Linked DNA regions of Homo sapiens: all the other regions are linked to region 1. The links are contacts of gene promoters, found by promoter capture Hi-C in human tissues and cell types (Jung and others, 2019). All regions are on one chromosome and are shown on one strand. Each heading gives the region's core, a stretch centred on a gene start or on the middle of the fragment in contact. The rest is flanking DNA. Distances are from core to core; before and after follow the strand shown.

What was found. The method cuts DNA at HindIII sites, captures the fragments that hold promoters and counts their contacts. A contact is called where the count stands out against the background at its distance.
Region 2: a fragment that was not itself captured here is called in contact with the fragment with the promoter of SOAT2 in region 1 in 2 of the 25 tissues and cell types used here (bladder and neural progenitor cells).
Region 3: a contact is called between a fragment that was not itself captured here and the fragment with the promoter of SOAT2 in region 1, in 1 of the 25 tissues and cell types used here (stomach).

Annotation. Positions count from the first base shown.
Region 1 is chr12:53,102,111-53,104,810 of GRCh38, forward strand. It overlaps SOAT2 (sterol O-acyltransferase 2), which reads left to right and starts at 1,376. Exons shown (of 15, transcript NM_003578.4): 1 at 1,376-1,549; 2 at 2,041-2,096. The coding sequence starts at 1,468. It overlaps IGFBP6 (insulin like growth factor binding protein 6), which reads left to right. Exons shown (of 4, transcript NM_002178.3): 4 at 1-230. The coding sequence ends at 57. RefSeq lists an enhancer at 958-1,486. The HindIII fragment of the contact is 25,360 bases long and covers 742-2,700 here.
Region 2 is chr12:53,358,483-53,361,253 of GRCh38, forward strand. No RefSeq gene overlaps it. Among named protein-coding and RNA genes, the nearest start is that of SP1, 20 kb to the right of the region's middle. The HindIII fragment of the contact is 4,324 bases long and covers 1-2,771 here.
Region 3 is chr12:53,494,378-53,497,077 of GRCh38, forward strand. The region is part of intron 1 of MAP3K12 (mitogen-activated protein kinase kinase kinase 12); the gene reads right to left. Among named protein-coding and RNA genes, the nearest start is that of MAP3K12, 3.7 kb to the right of the region's middle. RefSeq lists a silencer at 1,928-2,222. The HindIII fragment of the contact is 4,391 bases long and covers 1-2,700 here.

The DNA of each region.
Region 1 (2,700 bases), core at 126-2,625:
CCAGGGTCTCCAGATGGCAATGGAAGCTCCTCCTGCCCCACTGGGAGTAGCGGCTAAAGCTGGGGGATAGAGGGGCTGCAGGGCCACTGGAAGGAACATGGAGCTGTCATCACTCAACAAAAAACCGAGGCCCTCAATCCACCTTCAGGCCCCGCCCCATGGGCCCCTCACCGCTGGTTGGAAAGAGTGTTGGTGTTGGCTGGGGTGTCAATAAAGCTGTGCTTGGGGTCGCTGGCTTGTGTCTCTGTGTCTGCCTCTCACAATTCTGGAATCCCTGGCCCTCTCTTTACCCCACTACAGCTCACTCACAGCATTTCTCCTTTCCTGTGGATACCTTTAGTCCTTCCTGTGACAGCCAGGCAGAAGCTTCAAGCCATCAAGCCTCACAGAGCTGCCCACCAGGAGTTGGGAGTGGGAAGGGGAGACACTGAGATCATGGCCTTAATCTGAAGTTGTGACCTTGTTTCTAACACTGATCTTTGGACACAAAGGGAGGGGAAGGATTAATAGTTAATCCCAGCAGGAACCCAGCAAAGAGGAACTCTCAAAGCACATACCCTTCTGTTACTTCCTACTAAAAAAAGAAGGAAATTATTACTAATATATGAGCTCATCCCATGGCCCTGAACCATGTGATTTTACCTGGACAACCTCATTTTGAGCTTACGATAACCTTGTGATATAGGGATTTTTACCCCTATTTTTCAGAGGAGGAAACTGGCTTAAAATTTGGGGTCACTTGCCTGAAATTATATAGCTGGTAAATGACAGAGGGAGGTTTGCATCCGGTTCTTCCATATGTGACAATACCTGGTATTCCCTAGGTGCTGAATACGTGTTTGTTTAGTCTCCTTTCTGCCTACATGCTCACCCAAGCAGGTGTCAGGAAGCGGCCCTGTCAGTTCAGGGGCCCTGACACTCAGCCTTTCCTGGAGGGGCCCCAGTTCCGTGAGTAGCACAGTGCCAACCCCATCAGAATATTACCACATGTGTCAATCACACACCTTGTGGTGAAAGCGAGCTGAACGCACTGATACATGAAGACATTTCTGACTCCTCCCTGACCTTCAGCCTGCTGGGAGAGAGACTGGAAGGCCAGCCATGCTAGGTGACAAGCTTCTGAGAGGCAAAGTTCCCCTCCCCAAGATGTACCCAGCCACTATTCCTGTGTGTGTGTGGCGGGGTGGATAGCACCCTTGGAGCTGGGCATCTGGATGGTGGTTGGGGTGTTAGGGGGATGTGGCGATCCCTGCGACAGACAGCAGAGTGAGGTCTGAATCTGAGAAGCTCTGCCTCCAGATCAGATAACCTATCGCACTCCCAGAGGCCCCCTCCTCCTGAAAGGACTTTAGTCTTTGGAGCTGTCACCTGAGCTGAGTGGGACAAGAGCTCTACAGGGCAGGCCACACTGCGAAGGAAGGAGGCAACACGGGCAAGGGCTGCCTGCTGCCCGCTGGAGACCGCACCATGGAGCCAGGCGGGGCCCGTCTGCGTCTGCAGAGGACAGAAGGGCTGGGAGGGGAGCGGGAGCGCCAACCCTGTGGAGATGGTGAGCCGCCCTCGGGGGTGCAGAAGGCACAGGCAAGTGGGGGGGAGGCGGGGAGAGATGCGCTATGGAGAGAAGGCTCCAACTGCCTGATGCCAATCCTTCCTGCTGTCCAGAGAGGCCAAGGAAGGTAGACCCTGGCCTCAGCCCAGAGCCACCCAGCTGGAAGATGGAACAGAAAAGAGCTATGTCAGAGCTGTGGCCTGGCCTTATCCTTCTGACTGTTTAGCCCCAGATAGTGAATGGAGTAGCTTCCCATTCCCTGAGTGCCCTGTTCCCAGTAATGTCACCAGGCCCCCTGCTTGCCTATGGCCTCCTCACCACTGGCAACAGCAACTTCCCCTTCTAGTAGCCCCAACCATGATACTAGATATTGGCTGGTTGGGGTGAGGGCAGCTGCTGAGCACACAAAGCATTTCCTGACCACAGGATGCCTCTGGGTCTGCAGAACCCCAATTCCTCCTGTTGACTGTGCCTTTGATCCCTCCTCACAGGAAACACTGAGACGCACAGAGCCCCGGACTTGGTACAATGGACCCGACACATGGAGGTGAGGGATGTCAGAGGTCAGAGGTCAAGTGGACAGATCCTTGGTAGCAGGAAGCAGGAGTGAGGCTTGGTGATAAAGATGACTTTTTTTTTTTTTTTTTTTTGAAACAAAGTCTCGCTCTGTTGCTCAGGCTGGAGTGCATTGGCACAATCTCGGCTCACTGCAACCTCTGCCTCCCAGGTTCAAGCGAGTAGCTGAACTACAGATGAGTGCCACCAGGTGTGGCTAATTTTTTTTTTATATTTTTAGTAGAGACGGGGTTTCACCATATTGGCCAGGCTGGTCTTGAACTCCTGACCTCAAGTGATCTACCCGCCTCGGCCTCCCAAAGTGCTGGGATTACAGGTGTGAGCCACGGTGCCCAGCCTGATGACTTGTTCCTGAGTGCAAAGATCGGATTCGAATTAAGGATGGAGATGGAGGGGTTTGAAGCACAGGTCCCAAAGGTCACCAAAAGTCAGCCAGTAGATAGAGTCTTCCTGCTAGTGCGGCTGGAGGCCAGGGGTGAGGAGTGACAATCGGAGGTGACCAGGCTGGAATTCAGACCCAGGGAGGGGAAGCCTTGCTCCTGCTGTCACTCCCTGATCCTCGCTGCTGCCCCAGG
Region 2 (2,771 bases), core at 218-2,717, 260 kb after region 1:
AGACTAGCCTGACCAACATGGAGAAACCCTGTCTCTACTAAAAATATAAAATTAGCCACGTGAGGTGGTACATGCCTGTAATCCCAGCTACTCGGCCGCTTGAGGCAGGAGAATCGCTTGAACCCGGGAGGCGGAGGTTGCGGTGAGCCAAGATCATGCCACTGCACTCCAGCCTGGGCAACAAGAGCGAAACTCCGTCAAAAAAAAAAAAAAATTAGCTGTGTGTGGTGTCACCTGCCTATGGTCCCAGCTACTGGGGAGGCTGAGGCAGGAAGATCACTTGAGTCTGGGAGGTTGAGGCTGCAGTGAATCATGATTGCACCACTGCACTCCAGCCTGGGCGACAGAGCAAGACCGTCTCAAAAAAAGAAAGAAACATTTAACAGGGACTTACAAACAGAAGCCCTGTTTGTATCTCTGGCAGTGGTGAGACAAGACAGTGTATCCCTGTGCCATTAATCTCCAGATCCAGAATTTATATACCATAGGGAAGGAATGTGTAGGACAATTGAAGTCGACCTCTATGGGAAAGGCAAGAATGTTCTGTGAATCTGCCTAAGGGCAAGATTCATGGTCAAGGTGGTCTTGACCTAAGGGCAGGATTTATGATAAGTATATGCTCTTACCCAAAGATCAGTAGATAAAATAAAAATTTTAGAGGCATTCCTGGAGCTGGGGTTATTCAGAAGTCAACATAGCAGATTAACATCCAAGATGGAGTTGCTTCAGCCTCCATTCTGTAAAACTCTAGAAAAAAATAAATCTAGGGGCCAGGCACAGTGGCTCATGCCTATAATCCCAGCACTTTGGTAGGCCGAGGCGGGTGGATCATGATGTAAAGAGATTGAGACCATCCTGGACTCCATCTCAATTAAAAAAAAAAAAAAATTAGCTGAGCGTGGTGGCAGGCAACAAGAACAAAACTCCTGTCAAAAAACAAAACAAAACAACAACAACACCTGCAGCGTGTGTAGAATTTAAAAAAAGACAATCCATAGGGAGAAAATATTTGTCATATTTTAAACAAATAATTAATATCTAATACACATAACAAGCTTCTTTAAGTCAAACAATGCAATACAAAAATATAGCCTGAGCCAGGCGCGGTGGCTCACGCCTGTAATTCCAGCATTTTGGGAGGCCGAGGTCGGTTGATCACTTGAGGTTGGTAGTTCAAGACCAGCCTGACCAACATGGAGAAACCCTGTCTCTACTAAAAAATATAAAATTAGACGGGCATGGTGGCACATGCCTCTAATCCCAGATGCTCGGGAGGCTGAGGCAGGAGAATCACTTGAACCTGTGAGGCAGAGGTTGCTGAGCCGAGATTGCACCATTGCACTCCAGCCTGGGCAACAAGAGTGAAACTCCATCTCAAAAAAAAAAATGTAGGCTGAGCACAGACCCTGTCTCTACAAAAAATAAAAACAGTTGGCTGGGCACTCGCAGTGGCTCATGTCTGTAATCTCAGCACTTTGGGAGGCCAAGGCAGAAATATCATGAGTCCAGGAGTTTGAGTCCAGCTTGGGCAACGTATTGGGACTCCATCTCTAGAAAAAATTTTAAAAATTAGCTGGGTGTGGTAGTCTGCGCCTGTAGTCCCAGCTACTTAGGAAGTTGAGAGAGAAAGATCACTTGAGCCCAGGAGGTGGAGGCTGCAGTGAACCATGACTGTACCACTGCATTCCAGCCTGGATGACACCTAAGACCCTGTCTCAAAAATTTATTTTAAGGTTGGGCAAGGTGGCTTATGCCTATAATCCCAGCACGTTGGGAGGCCAAGGCAGGAGGATCCCTTCAGCCCAGGAGTTCAAAACCAGCCTGGAAAACATAGTGGGACCTTTTCTCTACAAAAAAAAAAAAATTAGCCTGGTATGGTGACAGGCACCCATGGTCCCAGCTACTTGGGAGGCTGAGGCAAGAGGATTGCTTGAGCCCAGGAGGTGGAGGCTGCAATGAGCTGAGATCCCGTGACTGCACTCCAGGCTGGGTGACAGTGAGACCGTATCTCAAAAACAAAAACAAACAAATTATTTATTTTTGTTTGTTTTTGTTTTTATTTATTTTTTGTTTTGTTTCTGTTTTAAGACAAAAGCCCTGTCGCCCATGCTAAAGTACAGTGGTACAATCTGGGCTCACTGCAACCTCTGTCTCCCAAATTCAAGCGACCCTCCCACATCAGCCTCTGGAGTGGCTTGGGACTTCAGGTGTGCAGCACCATGCCCAGTTAAAAAAAAAAATTTCTTTTTAATAAAAATAAAAATATGGCCGGGCTCAGTGGCTCATGTTTGTAAGCATAGCACTTTGGAAGGCCAAGGCAGGTGGAATGATTGAGCCCAGGAGTTCAAGACCAGCCTGGTAACATGGCAAAACCTCTTCTCTACAAAAAATACCGATGATTGAGCCACTGCACTCCAGCCTGGGCGACAGAGTGAGACCCTGTCACAGAAATAACTGAAATTCACGCCTGTAATCCCAGCACTTTGGGAGGTCGAGGCGGGCGGATCATGAGGTCAAGAGATCAAGATCATCCTGGCCAACATGGTGAAACCCCGTCTCTCCTAAAAATACAAAAATTAGCTGGGCATGGTGGTGCACGCCTGTAATCCCAGCTACTTGGGAGGCTGAGGCAGGAGAATTGCTTGAACCCGGGAGGTGGAGATTGCAGTGAGCCAAGATCATGCCACTACATTCCAACCTGGTGACAGAGCAAGACTCTGTTTCAAAAAGAAAAAAAAAAAGAAAAGAATTTGTTGGGCACGGGGGCTCAT
Region 3 (2,700 bases), core at 32-2,531, 390 kb after region 1:
GGAGGCTCTTTGGACACCCAACAGGCCCTAATTCAGTGCTTTGCTGGTGGCCCCAAAGTGACTCCATAAGGAGGCTACAGGGTAGAGTGGGGTAGGAAGTCACCCCCCATCTATCCCACCTTCTAGGTTCTCTGGCCTGAGATTTTGGAAGCCTGTGGCAGGTAAACTCTCTGAATTCTCTCTAGCTCCTTCTTGTATAACAGCAGAATGTCAATGCTAAGCTGTTTGGTGGTCTTAGGGGCTCAGTTCAGAGGCCAGGTCATCTGCCTAAATCTTGGGCTCTCACACTGAGTGCTCTCCACTGTCTGAGACCTCATTTTTTTACTCAGGAAAAGGAGAATGATTCCCTTTCTCTCGTGAGTGGGGGTAGGAAGGGGAGTCTTCAAAGGGAAAGGAGACCCAAGACTTTGGAGTCCTAATTCCACCTCTGCAAGCTTTGAAACCCTGAGAGGATAAAGGTCTCTGATCAATCGTGGCCATGCCTCCTGTCCCCTTGGCTGCAGCTCGTATTGTTTTTGAAACAGGGTCTCGCTTTGTTGCCCAGGCTGGAGTGCAGTGGGATGATCACGGCTCACTGCCTGCAGCCTCAACCTCCTGGGCTCAAGTGATCCTCCCCCTTCAGCCTCCTGAGTAGCTGGGACTACAGGCACTCACCACCACACCAGACTAAATTAAAAAAAGGCCGAGCACAGTGGCTCACGTCTGTAGTCCCAGCACTTTGGGAGGCCCAGGCGGGCGGATCATGAGGTCAGGAGATGGAGACCATCCTGGCTACCATGGGGAAACCCCGTCTCTACTAAAAATACAAAAAATTAGCTGGGCGTGGTGGCGGACGCCTGTAGTCCCAGCTACTCGGGAGGCTGAGGCAGGAGAATGGCGTGAACCCAGGGGGCGGAGCCTGCAGTGAGCCGAGATGGAGCCACTGCACTCCAGCCTAGGCGACAGAGCAATACTCTGTCTCCAAAAAAAAAAAAAAAAAAAAAAAAAAAAGGCCAGGCGCAGTTGCTCACGCCTGTAATCCCAGCAATGGAGACCATCCTGGCTAACATGGTGAAACCCCGTTTCTACCAAAAATACAAAAAATTTGCCAGGCGTAGTGGTGGGCGCACCTGTAGTCCGCCGCCACTGCACTCTAGCCTGGGCAACAGAGCGAGACTCCATCTCAAAAAAAAAAAAAAAAAAAAAAAAAAATTGTAGAGACCATGTCTCATTCTGTTGCCCAGGCTGGTTCCAAACTCCTGGGCTCAAATGATCCACCAGTCTAGGTCTCCCAAAATGCTGGCATTACAGGTGTGAACCACTGTGCCCTGCAGCTTGTTTTTATTTTCCATTTTTCAGGATCCGCAGTCCTGGCCCCAGGATCCCAAGAGGAAAAGAACTATTGCTTTTCTTAGTGCCCTCATGAGGGAGAAATGAGTTCCCCTGAGAACTTGGGGGAAAACTGGAGATCACCCCTAAATTCGGGTCTTTGATTGGTAAATCAAGCCCTGAGACCCCTAGCTGCCACACTTCCAGTGGGGTGGGCAGTGAAGGGGTTCAGGGAAGGGAGGGACAGTACTATTTAGGAAAAAAGAATCAGCTTCAGATTTGGAGAGATCAGAGCTAGAATCCCAGTTTTGCCACCACTTAGTTTAAGGAATGTAATCTCTCTGTGGTGCCCAACCCACCCTGCTGGGGGTAGTGAAGGTTAAGTAGGGTGATAGAGGGGGTGCAGGGAGCAGCATGTTTCCTCCTTGCTTTGTCTTCCTGGTTGGCTGGACACCAGGTCTTTGTGGATCCTGGAGAGGCTGAAGACTTGGTCTCTGACCTTCTGCTTTCCCAGGATAAACTGTGATTTCAGGTTCCAGTAGAACCAGGTCACAGTGCTAGTGATTGTGCTGGAGTCCCCAGTCATTCCTCTACCAGATCACCAGTCCCTCCTCTGTAAATCCTGCCATTCTGTCTCCTCTGGACTAAGGGGGATGGCCTGATTTTCTGCACCCCATCCTCACTCCCTGGCCAGTTGTCTCTGGAATCTGCTCTCTTAAGCAGCTGTACTGCTAAGATCCTCCCTTTGATCACGTGGCCCTGGATCACCCCTCAGCCTTACCCATGGAGGCCTCGGGGAAGGGGAGGGCAAGAGCAGGGTAGGATGGGCCTCAGGAGTCCCTCCTACCTAGGACCTCAGATAGACCAGGAAGAAGTTCAGCGGATGTTAACAAATATAGTTCCTCAACGGGATGGGCATTTTTAAAAATCTGGAAGAATAAATACCAAAGTATAACAACAGTTTCTAGGTAGGTGGAATTGTGAGTGTTTTAATTTTCTCCTTTGGGTTTACGTATATTCCTAGTATTTCAGTAACAACTTTGAATTGCTTTTAAAGTAAGACATAAAATTTAAATTGTAAAAGAGAAAATAAGATTGATGGACTGCTCATGCATTCCTTCACTTAGCTTATTAGGACAGTTGTGCAATAGGGAGAGGGTAGGTGGTAGAGGAGAGAACACAGGCCTCAAAATCAGAGTGGCTTCCTGAGGTCTTGTCTCTGCTCCTGGCCAGTTGGGTGACCTGGCCTGAGACTTTTCAACAAACCTCAGTTTCTTCATTGCTAAACGGGGACAGTGGTACCTATGTCCCACAGTGGCAATGCAGTACATAATGTGGTGGGTAAGAACACAGGTTCTGGGTTACACAGACCTGGGTTCAAATCCTACCTCT